Regions from separate parts of the Homo sapiens genome. Here region 2 is linked to region 1. Evidence: promoter capture Hi-C in 16 types of primary human blood cells and fetal thymus (Javierre and others, 2016). All regions are on one chromosome and are shown on one strand. Each heading gives the region's core, a stretch centred on a gene start or on the middle of the fragment in contact. The rest is flanking DNA. Distances are from core to core; before and after follow the strand shown. Region 1 holds the start of SPMIP11 (sperm microtubule inner protein 11). Region 2 has its middle 10 kb from the start of ADCY6-DT.

Region 1 (4,547 bases), core at 408-2,907:
TTGTCATATCTCCTGTAAAGCCTCCCCTAGCTTCCTGTTTTACAGTTATTCAAACTTAGTTATTCATCCATTCACCCTACAAATATTTATGCAACCTCTATTATGTGTGAGGCATGGCTAGGCATTTTGAATCTAATGTAGATCTGCTCACTGCCTACTAAAAATTCAATGGCTGTCTATAAAGTTAAAATGCTTAGCATGGCTAACAGCATCCTCAATTATCTGGCCCCTTCCTAGTTTTCAACGTCTGCCTCCCAGCACCTCTCCACTTTACCCTTTATGTGTACCCACGAACTTGGAATTCACTTAATATGGTTCTCTCTTAGGTCTCTGTTCCTTTGTCTGTGCTATATCCCCTTCTTTTTTTTTTTTTTTTTTTTTTTTGAGACAGAGTCTCGCTCTGTCGCCCAGGCTGGAGTGCAGTGGCTCGATTTCAGCTCACTGCAAGCTCCGCCTCCCGGGTTCACACCATTCTCCTGCCTCAGCCTCCCAAGTAGCTGGGACTACAGGCGCCCGCCATCACGCTCGGCTAATTGTTTGTATTTTTAGTAGAGACGGGGTTTCACCGTGTTAGCCAGGATGGTCTTGATCTCCTGACCTCGTGATCCGCCCGCCTCGGCCTCCCAAAGTGTTGGGATTACAGGCGTGAGCCACCGCACCCGGCCATCCCCTTTTTAGTGAACGCCAATCATCCTTTAACACCCAGTTCTGGAAGCATTTCCTGTGTGAAGTCTTCTCTGAAGGATTCCCCCATCCTCCACTCCCCCGTTCTTATTCCAAATCCAATAGTATCAGGTACTTCCTTCTTAGTGGCTCTAGAACATTCCATATTTAATGTAATCATACAATATATTGCAATTTTTGTTTGCACACTTATCTTTCTCATCAGATAGTCACTTTATAGCAGAGGTCTTAACCCTAGTCACCAACATAATGCCAGGCACATAAAGCCTGGTGCTTAACAAATGTTGGTTAAATGAGCCAACGAATGACTAAGAATACACTTATTTGGTTGAACAAATTGTGTGTCTTTTTTTTTTTTTGAGATGGTTTCGCTCTGTCGCCCAGGCTGGAGTACGGTGGTGTGATCATGGCTCACTTCATCCTTGACCTCCTGGGCTCAAGTGATTCTCCCACTTCAGCCTCCCAAGTAGCTAGGACCACAGGCATGCACCACCACACCCAGCTAATTTGTGTAACTTTTCATAGAGATGTGGTCTTACTATGTTGCCCAGGCTGGTCTTGAACTCCTGGACTCAAGCAATCCTCCTGCCTTAGCCTCCCAAACTGCTGGAATTGCATGTGAGCTACTGCACCTGGCCCAAATTGTGTGTCTTAATAAGGATATTAAATGACAGGAGAGCAAAGCTGAAAGGATATTGTCCCTATTCCACAATTTTAACTAGTGTAACTGTTGGCCTTGGAGGATAAATCTCTAACCCCAGGTAGGAAAATAAATAGCTAGGAAGTGGCTATGAAGCATCTAGGTAAAGAAGTGGCCCTTCTAACCCTCTACCCTATATTCCCCTTACTTGTTTCTTCAGTTGTGTTCCTTTTCTTGTTCTGAAAGGAATTTTGATATCCCAATAGATACAAGTTGAAGAAGGCCATCTCAGATCCTCCCTGGCCTCTTCTGGAACGTCCAGGTTGGGGCACTGGACTCTGTGCCTGGTAACCATGGTAATGTCCTAAGAATTACCACAACTGACACTCCCTTTGTCTAATGAGGCACAGGATTTATAGGTTCACAGTGGAGCTGGAGTGGGAGTGGGCTAAATAACTTCAGGAAAATGGAGGAATCAATTGTCAGTACACCTTTTCTTGACCTAGTCTTCCAGTGTAAGCTTCAGAAGGCAGTGAGTAGAAAGAGCACCGACCTGGGCTCATATCTTAGTTATGCCATATTCTAGGTGTCTGACTTTGAATAGATTAACTAAGCCTCCATTTTCAATTTTAAATTAAAAAAATGACAATGACAATATCTGACAGTTATGAGAATCAAATGAGATAATATATGCATATTTCCTTAGAACGGTGTTCAACACATAATGGAAACTTAAATTTTTTTTTTTTTTTTTTTTTTAAGAGTCTCCCTCTGTTGCCCAGGCTGGAGCGCAATGGCGCTTTCTCGGCTCACTGCAACCTCTGCCTCCAGGTTTCAAGAGATCCTCATGCCTCAGCCTTCCGAGTAGCTGGGATTACAGGGGCGCGCCACTACACCTGGCTAATTTTTGTATTTTTGGTAGAGACAGGGTTGACCAGCCTGGTCTTGAACTGCTGACCTCAAGTGATCTGCCCTCCTCGGCCTCCCAAAGTGCTGGGATTACAGGTGTGAGCCACCACGCCCCACCAGTATTTAAATGTTAATAGTTATCCAGCCTTATATTCAGGAAAAAAAAGAAATCTGAATAGGATACTTTCAATGAGTCTTTGTTTCAGCAGTGGTGTGCCAATCCATAGTGACTTTTGAAAGCTTGTTAAATTTTCATTGATTTTGTGAATTGGTTGTTAAACAAGGCATTATTAAAAATCAAATTAACTAAACTTACAATTGAATGTTATATTAAAAATAAAGGTAGTACATCGGGTGTGGTGTCTCACACCTGTAATCCCACCACTTTGGGAGGCCGAGACAGATGGATCTCTTGAGCTCACAAGTTTGAAATCAGGCTGGGCACCATGGTGAAACCCTGTCTCTACAAAAAAATAAAACCCACAGAAATTAGTTGGGTGTGGTACGTGACTGTAGTCTCAGCTACTTGGGAGGCTGAGGTGGGAGGATGGCTTGAGCCTGTGTGGTGGAGGTTGCAGTGAGCTGAGATTGTGCCATTGCACTCCAGACTGGCAATAGAGCCAGATCTTGTCATAAAATAAAATAAAAGTAGTAAATACTAACAAGTCATCTCTTCCTGATTATTTTACTCTTATCTATGCTCATGAGTTTATTTACTTCCATTGCATCTGGATATTCCACTCTTTTTTCATTCGTTTTTCTCTTTGTTTTTCCGTTTGGGAAGTTTCCTATTGACATATTTTCAAGCTCACTGATTTTTTTCCTTTGTCATGCCCAGTCTACTGATGAGCCCACCAAAGGCATTCTGCATTTCTGTTACAGTGTTTTTTATTTCTAGCATTTCCTTTTGATTCTTTAGAGTTTTCATCTCTCTGCTTACGTTGCCCTTTGTTCTTGAATGTTGTCCTCTTTTTCCATCCTTTGTTCTTGAATGTTGTCCTCTTTTTCCATTAGTGTCCTTAACATGTTAATAGTTATTTTAAAATCTCAGTCTGATAATTCCAAAATTTCTGCCATATGTGAGTCTGGTTCTGATGCTTGATTTGTCTTTTTTGAGATGGAGTCTCACTCTGTCGCCCAGGCTGGAGTGCAGGGGCACGTTTTCAGCTCACTGCAACCTCCGCCTCCTGGGTTCAAGCAATTCTTCTGCCTCAGCCCCCTGAGTAGCTGGGATTACAGGTGTCTGCCACCTTGCCTAACTAATTTTTTATTTTATTTTTTTATTTTTATTTTTTTATTGATCATTCTTGGGTGTTTCTCGCAGAGGGGGATTTGGCAGGGTCATAGGACAATAGTGGAGGGAAGGTCAGCAGATAAACAAGTGAACAAAGGTCTCTGGTTTTCCTAGGCAGAGGACCCTGCGGCCTTCCTCAGTGTTTGTGTCCCTGGGTACTTGAGATTAGGGAGTGGTGATGACTCTTAACGAGCATGCTGCCTTCAAGCATCTGTTTAACAAAGCACATCTTGTACCGCCCTTAATCCATTTAACCCTGAGTGGACACAGCACATGTTTCAGAGAGCACAGGGTTGGGGGTAAGGTCACAGATCAACAGGATCCCAAGGCAGAAGAATTTTTCTTAGTACAGAACAAAATGAAAAGTCTCCCATGTCTACCTCTTTCTACACAGACATGGCAACCATCCGATTTCTCAATCTTTTCCCCACCTTTCCCCCCTTTCTATTCCACAAAACCGCCATTGTCATCACGGCCCGTTCTCAATGAGCTGTTGGGTACACCTCCCAGATGGGGTGGTGGCCGGGCAGAGGGGCTCCTCACCTCCCAGCAGGGGCGGCCGGGCAGAGGCGCCCCTCACCTCCCGGGTGGGGCGGCTGGCCAGGCGGGGGGCTGACCCCCCCACCTCCCTCCCGGACGGGGCGGCTGGCCTGGTGGGGGCTGACCCCCCACCTCCCTCCCGGACGGGGTGGCTGCCGGGCGGAGACGCTCCTCACTTCCCAGACGGGGTGGCTGCCGGGTGGAGGGGCTCCTCACTTCTCAGAAGGGGTGGCTGCCGGGCGGAGGGGCTCCTCACTTCTCAGACGGGGTGGTTGCCGGGCAGAGGGTCTCCTCACTTCTCAGACGGGGCGGCCGGGCAGAGGCGCTCCTCACATCCCAGACGGGGCGGCGGGGCAGAGGCGCTCCCCACATCTCAGAGGATGGGCGGCCGGGCAGAGAGGCTCCTCACTTCCTAGATGGGATGGCGGCCGGGCAGAGACGCTCCTCACTTTCCAGACTGGGCAGCCAGGCAGAGAGGCT
Region 2 (4,630 bases), core at 1,715-4,214, 71 kb before region 1:
AACAAACAAACACAAACAAACAAAACAAAGAGGAGAGGCCCAGAAAGGAAAAGCTGTGATTGTTCATGTTTTTCCTGGGGACATGACTGCATGACGTGACTAGGCAATTCCTGCTCCTTGCTGCAAAGGCAGTGAGCCTTGGATCCAGTCTGAAGCAAGCCCAGTAGTAATTGAAAATCTTCCTCTTCTTCGCTTCTCTTTTCCCAAGCTCCAGTCCTAAACTAAGGACTGAGTTCCAACTGACTGAAAACCAAATTAAAAGAGGAGCCTTGCTCCCTTCCTTGTGCTCAGCGTTGAGACCCTGCCACCGCCTCAGCGGTCGTCCCTGCCCTGTCCGCCCCGGGCTGCACCCTGCAAGGCTCCTGCTGTTGTCCCCGGAGCATGGGAGGCTGCTGGGCATGAGTGGCTTGGTCCTGCGGAAGCTGCGTGGCAGGGAGGGGGTCCATGGCTGCAACCAACAAAGGCAGCAAGCCCAGATTCCGGAGTATCCACTTTGTGACAGGCCACGATGCAGAGGGCTCCCAAAGCCACGTCCACTTTGATGAGAAGTTGCAGGACTCGGTGGTCATGGTCATCCAGGAGAGGGACAGCAGCTTTCTGGTCAAGGTTCCTGAAGATCCTGCACAGGTATGAGATTACCTTTGCTCCGTCCCAGTGCACAGGCTGAGCAAGGACGTCCGCCAGGCACTTGTCCCCAGCCTGCACCTGAAGCTTCTCAGCGTCCTACCCTTCCCTGAAGGTTATAGTGTCAAGTGCGAGTACTAGGCGCACAAAGAAGGGGTCCTCAAAGAGGGGATGCTACTAGTCTGGGAAGGTGGCACCAGCACCTGCGTGCGCGGAAGGTGCAAGCCTGCATCATGGGCTGACGCCATGGCACATGCATGCTGCTGGACGGTGTCAAATGCATGGGTGCCAAGCTGGAATACTACTCGGAGCACAGCGACTGGCACGGCTTTGACTGAGGCCCGAGGTCCTGCCTGCCCTGGGCTGCCCTGCCTGCCCTGGGCTGCTCAGCCTTAAACCCTGCCTTGTTCCCCCATACCCGACATGCTGCCTGATGGTGTGGCTTCCTTGCCCCTCTCCAGGGTGGGTGGGATGGAGTGGCCTTGCCCACGCCTGTCACCTCTGCCTTCATTCAAGCCACCACCCTGCCTCTCCTGCATCCTCCTCTTCCACTTCCTCCTCTCCGTGTGCCTCAGTCTCCTGCCAGAAGAAATGGCTTGAGCCCTCAAGGAGGCTGTCTGAGGAAGGAAGGGGAGGGCCTGGGGTGGGTACTCCCACTCCCCACCCCAAGCCATAGGGGCTCCAGCCAGGGTCTGGGAGAGGACGGAGCTGGTTCTCTGAGGTCGTGGCCCCGTTACCTCTGCTGCTGCCTTGCTTCAGCCGCCTCTCCTGCCCCTCCCTCGTTCGCACTGCTGTCCTCCATGAGTAGCAGGGAGGTGCAGTCCCCAGCTCCTACCCCTCAGGTCTGTGTTACTTGATTTTTAAGCGAGTGGTTGGGATAGAATCCTAAAGAAATAAAACTTCCAGTGTGGGGGCGGGGTGGGGGGGAGACGACCCTTGTCCCCAGTGTTACTCCCAAACATTTGTGTGATATGCCGGCAAGGATCAGGGAGATAACCGATTTCAGTTATCTGCACTCACATACAGGCCCTTTGAGGCTTGTGAGATGAGAAAGTTTGATATTGTTAATCTTTTCAGTCTCTCTCACCTCTTACACACATATACAGAGCTGGCTTCCTGGACCACTTCTGGAAAGAGCAAAATCTACTTTTTCCATGGCAACTATTTAGCCAAGGAGACTGGGAGTAAAAGGGAGGATGTCCCTATGACCCTCTCCTTACTACTCTAAAATATCTTTTTTTTTTCTTTTGAGGTGGAGTCTTGCGCTGTTGCCCAGTCTGGAGTGCAGTGGCGTGATCTCGGCTCACTACATCTTCCGTCTCCTGGGTTCAAGCGATTCTCGTGCCTCAGCCTCCTGAGTAGCTGGGGTTACAGGTGTGTACCACCACACCCAGCTAATTTTTGTATTTTTAGTAGAGACGGAGTTTCGACATGTTGGCCAGGCTGGTCTTGAACTCCTGCCCTCAAGCCATCCACCCACCTTGGCCTCCCAAAGTGCTGGGATTACAGGTGTGAGCCACCATGCCTGGCCTTTTTTTTTTTTTTTTCTTTTTTGAGTAAAATATCTTAAAGAAAAGTGTGGGCATCATGATAGTCCACCAAGAAATACTTCAGTAGTATCACTCAGAAAGAACATATTTCAACCACCATATGATCTGGCAATCCCACTATTGGGTATATATCTGAAGAAATAAAACCAGTATGTTGAAGAGATATCTGCACTCCCATATTTATTGCAGCTTTATTCACAATAGCCAAGATATAGTAACTGGGCACAGTGGCTCACATCTATAGTCCCAGCTACTCTGGAAAGCTGAGGCAGGAGGATTGCTTGAGTCCAGGAGTTGGAAGCTGCAGGGCACTATGATCATGCCTGTGAATAGCCACTGCCCTCCAGCCTGGGCAACAAAGCAAGATCTGTCCTTATTAAAAAAAAAAAAAAAAAAAAAAAAAAAAAAAAAAAAAGGCCAGGCGCAGTGGCTCATGCCTGTAATCCCAACACTTTGGGAGGCCAAGACAGGCAGATCACAAGGCCAGGAGTTCAAGACCAGCTTGACCAATATGGTGAAACCTCGTCTCTACTAAAAATACAAAAATTAGCCTGGCGTGGTGGCGAGCGCCTAGCTACTCACGAGCCTGAGGCAGGAGAATTGCTTGAACCCAGGAGGCAGAGGTTGCAGTGAGCCAAGGTTGTGCCACTGCACTCCAGCCTGGGCGACAGAGCGAGACTCCGTCTCAGAAAAAAAAAACAAAAAAAACAAAAAACAACACACACAATAGCCAAGATATGGAATCACCCTGAGTGTCCATCAACAGAAAAATGGATAAAGAAAATGCAGTATACAGTATATATATTATGTAATAATATTCAGCCATAAAAAAGAATGAAATTTTGCAATTTATGGCAATATGGATGAACCTGGAGGATATTATGCTAAGTGAAATGAGCCCAGCACAGAAAGACAAATGCCATGTGATCTCTTTTTTTTTTTGAGACGGAATCTCTCTGTCACCTAGGCTGGAGTGCAATGGTGTGGTCTTGGCTCACTGCAACCTCCACCTCCTGGGTTCAAATGATTCTCCTGCCTCAGCCTCCCAAGCAGCTGGTACTACAGGTGCATGCCACCACACCCGGCTAATTTTTGTATTTTTAGTAGAGACGGGGTTTCACTGTGTTGGCCAGGCTGGTCTCGAACTCCTGACCTCATGATCCGCCCGCCTTAGCCTCCCAAAGTGCTGGGATTACAGGCATGAGCTATTGCACCTGGCCATGATCTCATTTATACGTGGAATCTTAGAAAGTTGAACTTGTAGAAAAAGTAGAATGGCAGTTACCGGAGGCTGGGGAGTGGGAGGATTGGGCCGAAATGAAGTTGGCCAAAGGATACAAAATCTGTTAGATGAGAGGAATAAGTTCAAGACATCTATTGCACAACGTGGTGAATAGAGTTAATAGCAATGCATCTTATACTTGAAATTGCTAAAAGAGTAGATTTTAGGTGTTCTCACCACCAAAAAAAAAAGATAAGCATGTGAAGTGATGCATATGTTAATTAGCTTGATTTAACCATTTCACAATGTATACATATTTCAAAACATGTTGTACACAATTTACGTACATATATATAATTTTTATTTGTCAATTTAAATAAATAAATAAATGTTAAAATTAGGGGGAATTTCTTAGTGTCAAAATAACATTACCCGGCCGGGCACGGTGGCTCACGCCTGTAATCCCAGCACTTTGGGAGGCCCAGGCGGGCGGATCATGCGGTCAGGAATTCAAGAACAGCCTGACCAACATGGTGAAACCCTGTCTCTACTAAAAATACAAAAATTAGCCGGTCTTGGTGGCACGCGCCTGTAATCCCAGCTACTCAGGAGGCCGAGGCAGGAGAATCACTTGAACCCGGGAGATGGAGGTTGCAGCGAACCTGAGATCCTGCCACTGAACTTCAGCTGGGTGACAGTGCGAGACTCCGTCTCAAAAAAAAATAAAAAAATAAAAAAATAACATTACCCTTCCCTAACACAATTAAACATAATTCCATCTAATATCCAGCACACTTTCAAGTTTCATCATTTGTAAGAGGGGTTAACTTTGATGGGTTTGGGTGGGGGAAGAATTTAAAAAGCCCTCAAGAAGGAAGTGGCATTTTGAGGAGTCCTTGAAAGATGACTAACAGCTACCACATTGTGACAGGCAAACCTGAGATGGCCACAAATGATCCCCACGTCTTGGTATTCATGCCCTTGAGTAATCCCCTCCCCTTGACTGTGGGCTGGCCTAGAGACTTACTTCTGATCCATCAGAAGGTGATGGACGGCACTTCTATAATGAGGCTATAAGAGACCATTGACTTCTGTTTGCTAGCGGAATCTCTTCTTGCTGGCTTGGATGAAGACATGCTGCCATGTGGCAGAGGCCTAAGGGAAAGGTGCCTGAGGCCCTCAGTCCAGCAGCCCAGCCCATATGGAACTGAATCCTATCAACGACCACATGAGC

The links. Contacts are between HindIII fragments. The CHiCAGO score rates a contact against its expected background, and 5 or more counts as called.
Region 2: a contact is called between a fragment that was not itself captured here and the fragment with the promoter of SPMIP11 in region 1, in 1 of 17 cell types (megakaryocytes). The highest score is 5.3, in megakaryocytes.

What each region holds. Positions count from the first base shown.
Region 1 is chr12:48,724,545-48,729,091 of GRCh38, reverse strand. SPMIP11 (sperm microtubule inner protein 11) reads right to left here and starts at 1,657. Exons shown (of 4, transcript NM_001351123.2): 1 at 1,533-1,657. The coding sequence starts at 1,611. The HindIII fragment of the contact is 5,202 bases long and covers 1-1,846 here.
Region 2 is chr12:48,796,903-48,801,532 of GRCh38, reverse strand. It overlaps the pseudogene ADISSPP1. Among named protein-coding and RNA genes, the nearest start is that of ADCY6-DT, 10 kb to the right of the region's middle. RefSeq lists an enhancer at 1-358. The HindIII fragment of the contact is 4,501 bases long and covers 714-4,630 here.